3 separate regions of the Homo sapiens genome follow, and regions 1 and 3 are each linked to region 2. The links are contacts of gene promoters, found by promoter capture Hi-C in blood cells and fetal thymus (Javierre and others, 2016). All regions are on one chromosome and are shown on one strand. Each heading gives the region's core, a stretch centred on a gene start or on the middle of the fragment in contact. The rest is flanking DNA. Distances are from core to core; before and after follow the strand shown. Region 1 overlaps ANO2 (anoctamin 2). Region 2 holds the start of NTF3 (neurotrophin 3). Region 3 overlaps LOC105369617 (a long non-coding RNA gene).

Region 1 (3,490 bases), core at 185-2,684, 430 kb before region 2:
GAATGCATGATGGTGTGATTGCATGATGGTGTGAATGCATAATGGTGTGATGGCCTGATGATATGGTGGCATAATGCTGTGGTGGCATGATAGTGTGAATGCACGATAGCGTGAATGCATGATGGTGTGATGGTATGATGGTGTGATGGCATGATGGTGTGGTGGCATGATGGTGTGGTGGCATGATGGTATGAATGCATGATGGTGTGAATTCTTGATGGTATGAATGCATGATGGTGTGAATGTATGATGGTGTGATGGCATGCTGGTGTAAATGTATGATGGTGTGAATGCATGATGGTGTGATGAAATGGTAGTGTGGTGGCATGATGGTGTGAATTCTTGATGGTATGAATTCATGATGGTGTGAATGCATGGTGATGTGATGGCATGATGGTTTGAATGCATGATGGTGTCATGGCATGATGGTGTGGTGGCATGATGGTGTGAATGCATGGTGATGTGATGGCATGATGGTGTGATGGCATGATGGCTTAGATTTCTTTCATATGCCCTAACTCTTAGCACATTGCCAAGCACACAGTCGTTGCCCAATAAATACTTGTTGAATTGAACTTTGTTAGGATGATTGAATCATAGGAAAATAGTGTAAAGATTCTTTAAGGGAGAGATGAGTCACTGCTAAGAGAAGGCAGGGGCATATCCTTGTGGGGGAGGGGAGTTAATTACTGATAACATAAAGGGTTTAGGGAGGTGTCTTGAGGTTGGAAGAAAAGTAGCAAAATCAAGGAATCATGCAAATTTTAAGTCAGGAGAGACATTAGAGATAATGAAGAGATAGGGCTTTCAGAGTTAATATGACCAGCTTTTAAATGCCTGGGAATGCTTCTCTCTGAGTGGGATATTTTTCACATGGGCCAAATAAATGAAAGACAGGAAGGGGATACTGGGCATTCTTGCTCAAAGGTTTGATGGCTATTAAGTGTAGTGGTGCTCACAGGTTGATCCTGTGATTTGCTTGTCTAGCCTGGGACATTTTTGAGAATGCTAAAATCCTAAACTTGATGGGATGATGAGGCAAGGGGAATAAACAGAGACTGTTCCAGGCCAGCCAGGACCTACTGATCATCTGTGGTCTGAGTATTTACTAATGACCAGCTAGGGCACCCCTTTGCCCATTGCTCTCTTGCCTTCCATTCCTCAGGCACTGAAGTGCTCTCCGTGTCCTGGTGGGGGTGAGGGAGAGGCACACCCATTGCTGAGAGTTAGCATCCACAGCATCTGATTCCACTTGCAGGATGGCGACTGTCCAGAACAATTTCACTGTGATGAATAGGAAACAGCAGCATTTTCCTTGGGTCTTTCCTCACAGTTCATCCAGGATCCCCTGTTTGGGCTGGTTCTGTGTGCTGGAAGCCCAGGCGCCAGCCTACTGGCCTCCCTGAGTTTTGGGAGAGGCCCTGTTCTTTCTGCCAACATCTTTGGGGCTTATGGATTGTCATTCTCTCATTTTTGGTAGAAATGTTGCATCTGGCTACTTTCAGCCTGTTATCTTTGAGCATCATAAACTCCCAAGAGAAATGTTCACTTTTATCTTCATCCTCACTTGGTGGTGTTCAGTTACATGCCAGGGGCTACTGCCTCGGTGGGCTCAGCTATGATTTTTTTTATGTGGGATCCAAGAAACATGGTGGGATTCCCACAGGGGTCAAGGACATGTGTTTTTTTGGCCCTAGGAACATGGGTATGCCCTGTGCTTTGAGTACCAAGGCAGAGATTTCACAGTGCCTATCCCTGCACTTGCTCTTTAAAAAATCCTTTTGTAGACACTTCATAGTTTACAAAATACCTTCATATGTACAACCTTATTTGATTCTGAGATACCATGAAATCATTATTCACTTTTGAATATTTATTATTAATTAAAAGCTAACGAATATATAACATATTGTTAAGTAAATAATGTTTATTTAACATAAAACATTATAATTAAAAATAATGATTTTTTAAAACAAAAAAAGTTACAAGAAGTGTTGCATTGTTTTACATTTTTGCATATCTTTTCCCTCTAGCCTTTTTGAGGTATAACTGATGTATAATAAACTGCACATATTTAAAGTATCCAATCTGTTGAGTTTTGACATGTGTTCAAAACCATCACTGTGAAACCATCACTGTCTTGTAATCAAGAAAATGAACATATCTACCACCCCCAAACATTTCCACAGGTCCTTTTGTAAAGTCTATCCTTCTCTCCTCCAAGTGGTATTATTATTAATTATTACAATTATTTAACATTGCCTGTCAATCCGAGAGAGCTTTGGTGGCTTGTTGGAAATGGTGCAGCTGGTAAGTGACAGAGCTGGGGCCCAAGGCCTGGTCCTCAGGCTCCAGAACCCATGGCCTTCCCGGGGCCTATCTTACATGGTGAGGATTATTCCCTATTTCTTCCACCTGTAGGATTTCTGAAGTAGAATAACACCTAGAGAAGCCTGAGTCACACTCTGTTGCTGACTCCCCATAGGTTAGGTCTTTCAAGGTGCCGTGCTGCCTTTGGGGTCCTCTGCAGCTCAGGGGTTGAGTGGGGAAGAGGTTCTCTCACCCTTGATATGTTGGAGGGTGTATTAGTCTGTTCTCACGCTGCTAAAAAAGACATACCAGAGACTGGGTAATTTATAAAGAAAAAGAGGTTTAATGGACTCACAGTTCCACGTGGGTGGGAAGGCCTCCCAATCACGGTGGAAGGTGAAAGGCATGTGTTTACATGGCAGCAGACAAGAGAGAATTGAGAACCAAATGAAAGGGGTTTCCCCTCACCGTCTCTACTAAAAAAAAGAAAAAAATACAAAAAATTAGCTGGGTGTGGTGGTGGGTGCCTGTAATCCCAGCTACTCAGGAGGCTGAGGCTGGAGGATTGCTTGAACCTGGGAGGTGGAGGTTGCAGTGAGCCAAGATTGCGCCATTGCACTCCAGCCTGGGTAACAAGAGCGAAATTTTGTCTCAAAAAAAGAAAGAAAGAAAGAAAGAGGTTTTCCCTTATAAAACCATCAGATCTTGTGAGCTTATTCACTACCACGAGAACAGTATGGGGGAAACCGCCCCCATGATTCAGTTACCTCCCACCAGGTCCCTCCCGCAACATGTGGGAATTATGGGAGCTACAATTCAAGATGAGATTTGGGCAGGGACAGAGTCAGACCCTATCAGAGGGTTGGACTCCTCAGTCTCCCTGGGCTCCCCTCACTGCTTCCTCTTCACTTGGGCTTTGAGGAGTTGTTCCTGGGCTGCCTCTGGTTGGAGTGCAATGATGTGTGATACACGGAGTGGAGACTGTGGTGATAGGTCCAGAGATCACCCGTTCTGCGTGTCTGTCCAGGTTGGCACCCAGAAATACGACAAAAGTGGCTGAGTTTTCATGTCCATAGGACCCTGGGTTGTCCCTGGTCGTTGGTTGGGAACCAGGTGAAGTCTTTTCCATAAGAAGGAAGGGTCTTGCTGCTGGTCTTAGTGGGTCTCTGGGATGGGGCTT
Region 2 (3,527 bases), core at 603-3,102:
TTTATTTAAAAAGCAGGTCGCTCAGTGCACTCCATAATCAGCTGAGTTACAAACATCAGGCTCCAGGAGAAACACCCACCCCTTCCAGGCTCCCCTCCCCTCTCAGCAGGCCCTCGCCCCCGCCTCTTCACACACATAAACAAGTCCACAGGCGCACAGTCTCCCGAGCTCTCTAGCTCTGAGCCCGGCGCTCCCGGGAGCAACCTCCATTCGGACTCAGAACCTGCCGCCCGCCGCCAGAGGCCGAGGCCAGACGATCTTTTCGGTGTTTCCCCCACCGGCAATCCCACCCCAGCCTCGATTCCAGCAAAAGGGATCCTTTCTAGTCCACAGCCCCGACACCGTCGGACGCAAGGGTCTCAGTGCCGTGCATCTGAAGCGCAGACGACGAATGAACGCAGCAGCCAAACTCCCGCAAAGAAGCAGCGCCTCCTGGACGCGCACCCACTCCCGCGGAGAGCAACAAGCAGAATCCTACTCCCCCATCCCATGCCCTCGGCCCTCGCCCCTCCTGTCCCTAACCTTCAACTCCCAAGCGTCCCAAATTTCATCAGGAGCATCCACCACTGAGTAAAGCTCTGGGGCAATGGGACAGTTCGGTCCGTCGTGGGACCTTTAAACTCCGACCTGGCTGGCTGCGCGGGTGCCCAGGTCTCCCGGCCTCCCACGCCACCGCTCAAAGTCCGAGAACAGGCTGGACGATACCGCAAGGAGATCCCCTGGGATGGCCGGGCCCGGGTGCCCGCCGCTCCCCGGAGGGGTCCCAGATGTGCGGGCTGCGTACGGAGCTCCAACATCTGCGCAAAGGCCCAGGGTGGGGTGGCCACCGGGTGGGCGCTGGCCAAGAGGAGCCCGGGGCGCGAGGTCTTTTCTGAAAAAACCCTTTCGGGGAACTCCAACGCAGGTACGCGGCGCGTGGCAGTGAGTCCCAACTCCCAAAACTGGAACGCGAGGTTCCGGGTCCTGAGCTGCGCGTCCCCTCCCCCCAGCCCACGCCCGGGCCAGAGTGGTGCTGGGGCGAGCTGAGAATCAGGCTCAGCGGCCGGCAGAGTGCAGGGCGTGTGCAGGGGAGCTGCCGCGGCACCTCCCCGCCCGGAGTTCTGTCTGCCACCCCCTTTTGTTATAGGATGCGCTAGGAGCTTTCTCGGAGGAGCAGGCGGGTCGGTTGGGAGTGGTGGGTGGTTGATTCTGTTGAATCTCTTTCCTGCTCTTTCGTCGTCCCCATTTCCCCTCTTCTGCCCCCACCCTTTCCAATCCAGGTCCCTTAAACCTGATCACTTTCCCAGATTGAGGGAAGCTTCTTGGGCAGCCGAGGGACAAGAGGGGAGGAGGTGGAGAAGGGTGTCCGTGTCTGTGTGTGTGTGTGTGTGTGTGTGTGTGTGTGTGTGTGTGTGTGTGTGTGTAGCGGGGTGGCTGCGGTTGCGCTTCGGCCTGAGCAGATCCCAGCGCAAACTTTGGGGAAGACACAAGCCCGGGAAAGTGAGTGAGCGCGGCGCGATGGGGGTGGGGCGGGATGCGGATCTGGGGCCCCCCGCACCAGTCCACTGGAAAATCCCTCCCCACGTGGACCCCCATCCCCAAACCTGCCCACCCAAGGTGCCCGCCGCCTCCCCTTACCGTGGCAAAAGTAACCATGGCATCCGTGTGGCCGTTTCCAGGGACGTCGACATGAAGAGAAAGGTGGACGCGAGCTCGGTCATTCAAAGTCTCCCCCACCCCGCCGCAGCCACTACCCAGCAGGGGAAAAAGGAGAGGAAGAAAGAAAGGAGAGAGAAGAAAGTAGTTGCGCCGGGCTGCGTCGCGGGGCGGTGCGCGGAGCTGTTCGGAAGGGAGAGGAGCTTCAACTCTGAGTCCCGTGAACAGAATCTGCGCGGTTATAACCAGCCAACCCGGCCAGATGGCTCCGCGCTCAGCGCCTTAACCCCTTCCGCGCCGCGCCGCCCTCCCCCGCCGGCCCGCGCCGCGCCGCGCGCGCCCGCGCCCCAGAGCCCCCCCCCCGCCCTCACTTCGGGACCCGTGGCGGGGAAGGGGTCATTTCTCCTGGCCCCTCTTGAAAAACAAAACCAAACCAAACAACAACAGCAACAAAAACTTCCAAATCTGTAGTATTCTTCAGTAACCCCCACCCTTGAGTTCCCTTTTAGAGATCCAGGAAAAAACGAAACGTTAAATGTATCGTAACAGGTTACATGTTAGTGTCTTCAGCCTTTCTTAGTGGTTCTTTTTCTTGAAATTTTTCTTTTTGATCTTTTTTCTTTCAAGATTTTCTTTACAAGGCATCAGGGCCTTTTCCTGCCTTTTTCCTCAGGAGGATCAGGTCTGAGGCGTAAACTCCTCCTCCAAACCTTAGACCCTTCCAGCTCCAGATCTCTCCCCACCCCCTACCAAGCCCACCCGCCACTCCTCCCCCCACCCCACAGCACGAACACGCCCAAGGACAATCGCTCCCCGGCGAACTCCCCGCTCCCGGGGACCCGCACCCAGGACGCTGTGTCGGCGGTCAAGGGAGGTCAAGGTAGAGGGGCGTGGGGGCGGGTGGTCCGAGGGACTAGGGAGGGGCTGTGTGTGCGCGCGCGTGTTTGCGGGAGCTTGAGTGTGGAAGGGAGAGGGAGATGGATCGCAGCCTCCCATTTCACCCATCCTCCAACTTCTAAACCCCTTCCTTCCAAACTAGGATGGGGCCCTGCAGCTAATCACTCGCCCAGCACCCACCAGTCTGCACGCGGGGACAGCGCGAGAAGCAGGAAAGGCGAGCAACAAACAAACCTGTTCGTGGCGCCCCGAAAGTAATGACGCTCACTTCCCCACCGGTGGATACATTCGAGGAGAGGATAGGGGGAGGGGGTCAAAATCTCTTATTTGGAGATAATTTTAGCTGCCCGTTAGACCTCACTTGCTCCGAGCCGTTCTCTCTAAATTTACCAAGTTAAGTCATCTTGATTTCGCCCATTTGCCATCGAGAGAAGGGGGAAAAATACCACTTAGTGATCAACGAGAAATCGAGAGCCCGGAAGCAGAGTTTTGCCCACTTGCCCGCTTCCCGAGTCCTTGCGTGGTGGACCTCCGCTCCAAGCCCCTCATCCCTTCCTCCCTGCCACTTCAGCCGCTCCTCACATCATCTCCTGCCAGGACCTTTTGACTCACGCGCGACTGGGAAGGGCAGCGAGTATCCCGTTTCCTCCCTGCCCTGTCGTTCGAGGTGTCTAATAAGCAAGCCGTTCCGCGTTTCGGTTAGGGCCCAGGTTCAAAAAATCCAAATACCTTGAAATTGCTTGAGAATTTGGTTAAACATCGGAACTGCACCCACCAGTTCAGGACCAACCGGCCGCAGAGAGTAGCTGGGGGGTTGGATGGGGAGGTGGGAAGGGAGGGGGGAGTCTGGGGGCTGCGTACTAGATAGATTGTACCTGCCTCATCATTATCCTGGCTGATGGGGGTTGCCACATCGAAAACCGCCAGAAGCGCCCACCGAGGCCCAGGGGCGTCACCTCCTGCGGTCCCTCGCAAGGGTAGGGTAGTCCTTCAGT
Region 3 (3,686 bases), core at 548-3,047, 280 kb after region 2:
GACCACGGGCAGTAGGGCCAGGAGCCCCCAGCTTTGCAGGCAGTGTTCACAGTGGTGGAACAAGAATCCCACCTTCGGGGCACATGGGACGGAGGTCACAACAGCCAGACCTTGTGTGTAACCCATGACCCAAGCAACCACAGAACAGCCAGAGGTGGCTCAGTCTGGCCCAGGCCATTCTATATCACTTGGAAATATTTCACTGTTATTTCAATCTGAACAGTCTCCCCACCACTGCACCCCTTACCCCAAATTACCAAAGGCATTTGGGCAAACTGGATGTAGAAGGGGGAGAAGTAGGTTCAACTTTTGATTTTTACCATTCATGTTTTGTGTCACACTGGGCTAAGTCCCCTTGGCTTACTACTGCATTTCCTCATTTGTACAGTGAGATCACACCCCAACGGTTTGCGAGCCAACAGGTAGGTTCTGGGAGGCACAGACAACCTCAGGCATTTTCAGTGCCCTGGCCTCATTCGCTTTACTTGTTGTGTAGTTGGCAGTGGGTGACCCTGACCCCTGAGGTCTCAGCTCACAGAGCCCATGCTGGGCATGGGTTGAGGCAGCCCCACCTGCCTGCACCCAACAGTTTTCTTTGTCGTCTTTTGGCCTTTTTGAAAGGTACCTGCTTCCTTGGCCCCATTGCCTGGGCTGTCCCTACAGGCTTCCTGTGATGCTCCCTAACCCTCCAAGACAATGATGTAGAGCAAGGAGGAGCCACAGCGGAGTGAAAACTGCAGATCTGCCAGCCTGTGTTCTCCCTCTGGCCTGAGGGGTGTTGTAGAGGCAGAGGTGGAATCTGCTGGAGATGGTCCTGCAGAGTCTCTGTAGTTTGTGTGTGATTCTGTTTCACCTGCCTTTTCTGAGCCCTCTCCTCCCCTCACCAGGCCTCAGGAATTGCTGTGTGGGGCCTCAGGGAGGAGAGTGGGCTACAAGGAGAATTTGGCAACTGGTAAATCTGTCTTCGAGGATCCCACAAGCAGCAGCGTGGGTGCTGTCCACCTGGCCAGCCTCCCACCACCGCAGGCTTCCGGGATGCTTGTTCAGCCCACATCCAGGAGTGAGAGCCAACCCTCCCGCCGGCCGCTGTCAGTGCGAACCGGACAAGGGCAAGAGGGGAAGGAGGAAGACCAGGGGAAATAGGGAGAAGGAAGTTCTGCAAAAATCCTACCTCCTCCACAAAGCTTCCCTGCTGCATTGAGCTTCTGGCCTCACTCCCTCCTCAGGCTCCCAGAATGTTCCTGGGACCCCCATCATCTTGTATGTGGCATGTATGTCCTTGCTGTCCTTTAATATAAAGGAACCCTGTCTCAACCACACAAAGCCACTGTAAGTGCAGGTGCAAACACCTAGCACAGTGCCAGGTGCTTAGGAACAATTTGCTGACGGTTCTTTCCTTGTGGTGATAATACAGAAGAGGGGAGGTGGTGAAAGGATGGACAACTCAGGACTGGGCAGACTTGATTTCACCTGGACTCCTGAGCCTCAGACCACATGCAGAGCGATTGTTTGCTATTCCCATGAGCAGGGAATCCTGTTCATTTCCATCATCACTGAGAATGATGTGTGTCACTGTGGCATACGGGGGTGTGGATAAAGGGGAGGTGGAGGATATCTAGTGTACAGAAAATCACTTAGCTATCTCTTGACCCCAAAATGTCCTTAATCACTCTCCCTTACCCTACTTCCCTCTCAAGGATGTTCTCAACCAGAATATTGTGAGAAATTTCACCATCTGACAGAAAAATTTGTTCCTCCGTAGGAAACATTGTCCATATTTTTTGAAATGTGTAAGGACTATTGTGTCTACCTTCGGCATCTGTGCAGCCTAACCCTTGAGAAGGGAGAACAGCAAGGCAAAGAGCCCACCATCCTTCTGAAGACACCATGATCCAAGGCAGAGACCCCAAAGTGAAGAACATGTACCATGGGTATCCAGAGAAAACTGTGCTGGTGCATGGAGGAGCACTGGTGGTTTTTAGCAGGGATGTTCCATTTCGATTCTCCTCCTTCCCTTCAAGGAGAATGTGTCGGTCGGGTGCCAGGATCTTGTTAACACTTTTCAAACTCTTAGCTCCTACTGTAATCCCCCAAATAGGTCTTGACACAAGAACCCTCAACAGACTACAGTACCCAGCTCATTCCACAATGTCATTTTCCATTAATCACATTTGCCTTTTGGTCTCCAATATTTAAGGCAAGTAATGCTGCTTTTCCATAGGCATTAGTGACATAGTTTCCTTTTAAAATAACTGCATTTAAGTAAAAAATGGATCTGGCTAAAGAAAAAGTATTAAGTAATAGCACAGGTGTTTACAGATATGCCAAAAATAATGAAAATTCTGTGCTCATGACCAGATGTTGGGAATCAATGGGATGGTTCTCAGGGGTAAGAAGTAAGAAAGCTTTTTATCCCCACCCTGACACTCTTTAATGTGTGGTCTGTGGCAAGCCACTCTCCCTCTTTTCATGACTGTTTCCCTATATGTAAAATGAGGAGAACTGTACTCCAAAGGCTTTTAAAGTATATTAGTGTATTGCAATTCTCCAATTCTAGGATTTTGTGTGTGGGAAGAAGAGAGCATGGAAAAAATTTCAGAATACTAAAGAGAGGTGGAATTCTTCTGCTTGTCATCTTTGAAGCCAGCACAGAAGAGCTTTCTCTTCAGTTTCACTACAGACTGAGACTGAGAAGCAATGCCAGTCTGCTAACAGTTCTGCCTGTTACCCTCTGTCACGCCCTCGCTGACCCTCAGAGACAGAGCAAGCTGCAGCTCCCAGCAGCTGCAGACACAGCAGCTCCTTAGTTCTGCAGATGCACAGCCAGGAGAGGGCTCTGCCGGGTCTGAAACCCCCTTGCTAATCACCTCATCCTGAAATCCGAGGCCCTGGGAATGGCCTGTTCATGAAGGGCTTGGGCCTGGTCTAACAGCCAGAAAATTCCCTGGAGGATCCTTATCAGCCACTGCGTGTCTCCCCACTGTTACAGGTGAAATGAGAAGCTTGGGGAAGGAGCAGCTCCCTTTTCACAGGCCTCATTCGAGTTGGGGGTAAATAGGGGAGGCAGAAGCAAGCCCCCCATTCCCAAGCCCAGGGAAGGAGGACACTTGGCTTTGTTCCCCCTTCAACATTACAGACTTTTTTTAAAAAAAAAGAAAGAGAAGACGTTTGATCTTGGATGAACTTTTCTAATCGTCCTTGAAATTGATTGAGCAAAATGCCTGATTCTGAGCACTCAGAAGTGGGAAAACCTCTAATATGACACTGGGGAAAATCAAGTGAGGGGAGACAAGAAAGGGGCTTTGAAGGGAACAGAGGTTGGGCACCAGAGATGAAGCAGGGAGAACACTGCGGATATGCTAGTGCCGAGATGCAGCTTAGAGCCTGGGGACTCTTCCTTGGACGACACCATATGCGTGTGATGCTTTTTGCAGAGAGAAGTTCTAAAATAAAGAGACTGAATGCCTTAGTGCAAAAAGGGCTCTTCCAATACCCTCCTCCAACAAGGCTTTTGCCTTTGTCTCTAACCAATCACTATGCAATCTCTGGCATCCCCTCAGAATGTTTACCTGTGGACCCGAAGCTGGAATTTGTAACTGTTTCTGTCCATCCTCTGCAGCCCAGCAGCAAATCAAAATGCACACATGGGAGGCCACTGTGTCTGCCTATGTGGAGCAGTGGTGGGA

What was found. Contacts are between HindIII fragments. The CHiCAGO score rates a contact against its expected background, and 5 or more counts as called.
Region 1: a fragment that was not itself captured here is called in contact with the fragment with the promoter of NTF3 in region 2 in 1 of 17 cell types (megakaryocytes); the score reaches 5.6 in megakaryocytes.
Region 3: a contact is called between a fragment that was not itself captured here and the fragment with the promoter of NTF3 in region 2, in 1 of 17 cell types (M1 macrophages). The highest score is 5.4, in M1 macrophages.

The regions. Positions count from the first base shown.
Region 1 is chr12:5,862,281-5,865,770 of GRCh38, reverse strand. All of the region lies in intron 3 of ANO2 (anoctamin 2), which reads left to right. Among named protein-coding and RNA genes, the nearest start is that of ANO2, 81 kb to the left of the region's middle. The HindIII fragment of the contact is 5,752 bases long and covers 1-3,490 here.
Region 2 is chr12:5,430,433-5,433,959 of GRCh38, reverse strand. NTF3 (neurotrophin 3) reads right to left here and starts at 1,852. Exons shown (of 2, transcript NM_001102654.2): 1 at 1,618-1,852. The coding sequence starts at 1,635. RefSeq lists an enhancer at 510-1,035. The HindIII fragment of the contact is 3,984 bases long and covers 1,300-3,527 here.
Region 3 is chr12:5,153,446-5,157,131 of GRCh38, reverse strand. All of the region lies in intron 1 of LOC105369617 (a long non-coding RNA gene), which reads right to left. Among named protein-coding and RNA genes, the nearest start is that of LINC02443, 88 kb to the left of the region's middle. The HindIII fragment of the contact is 1,221 bases long and covers 1,187-2,407 here.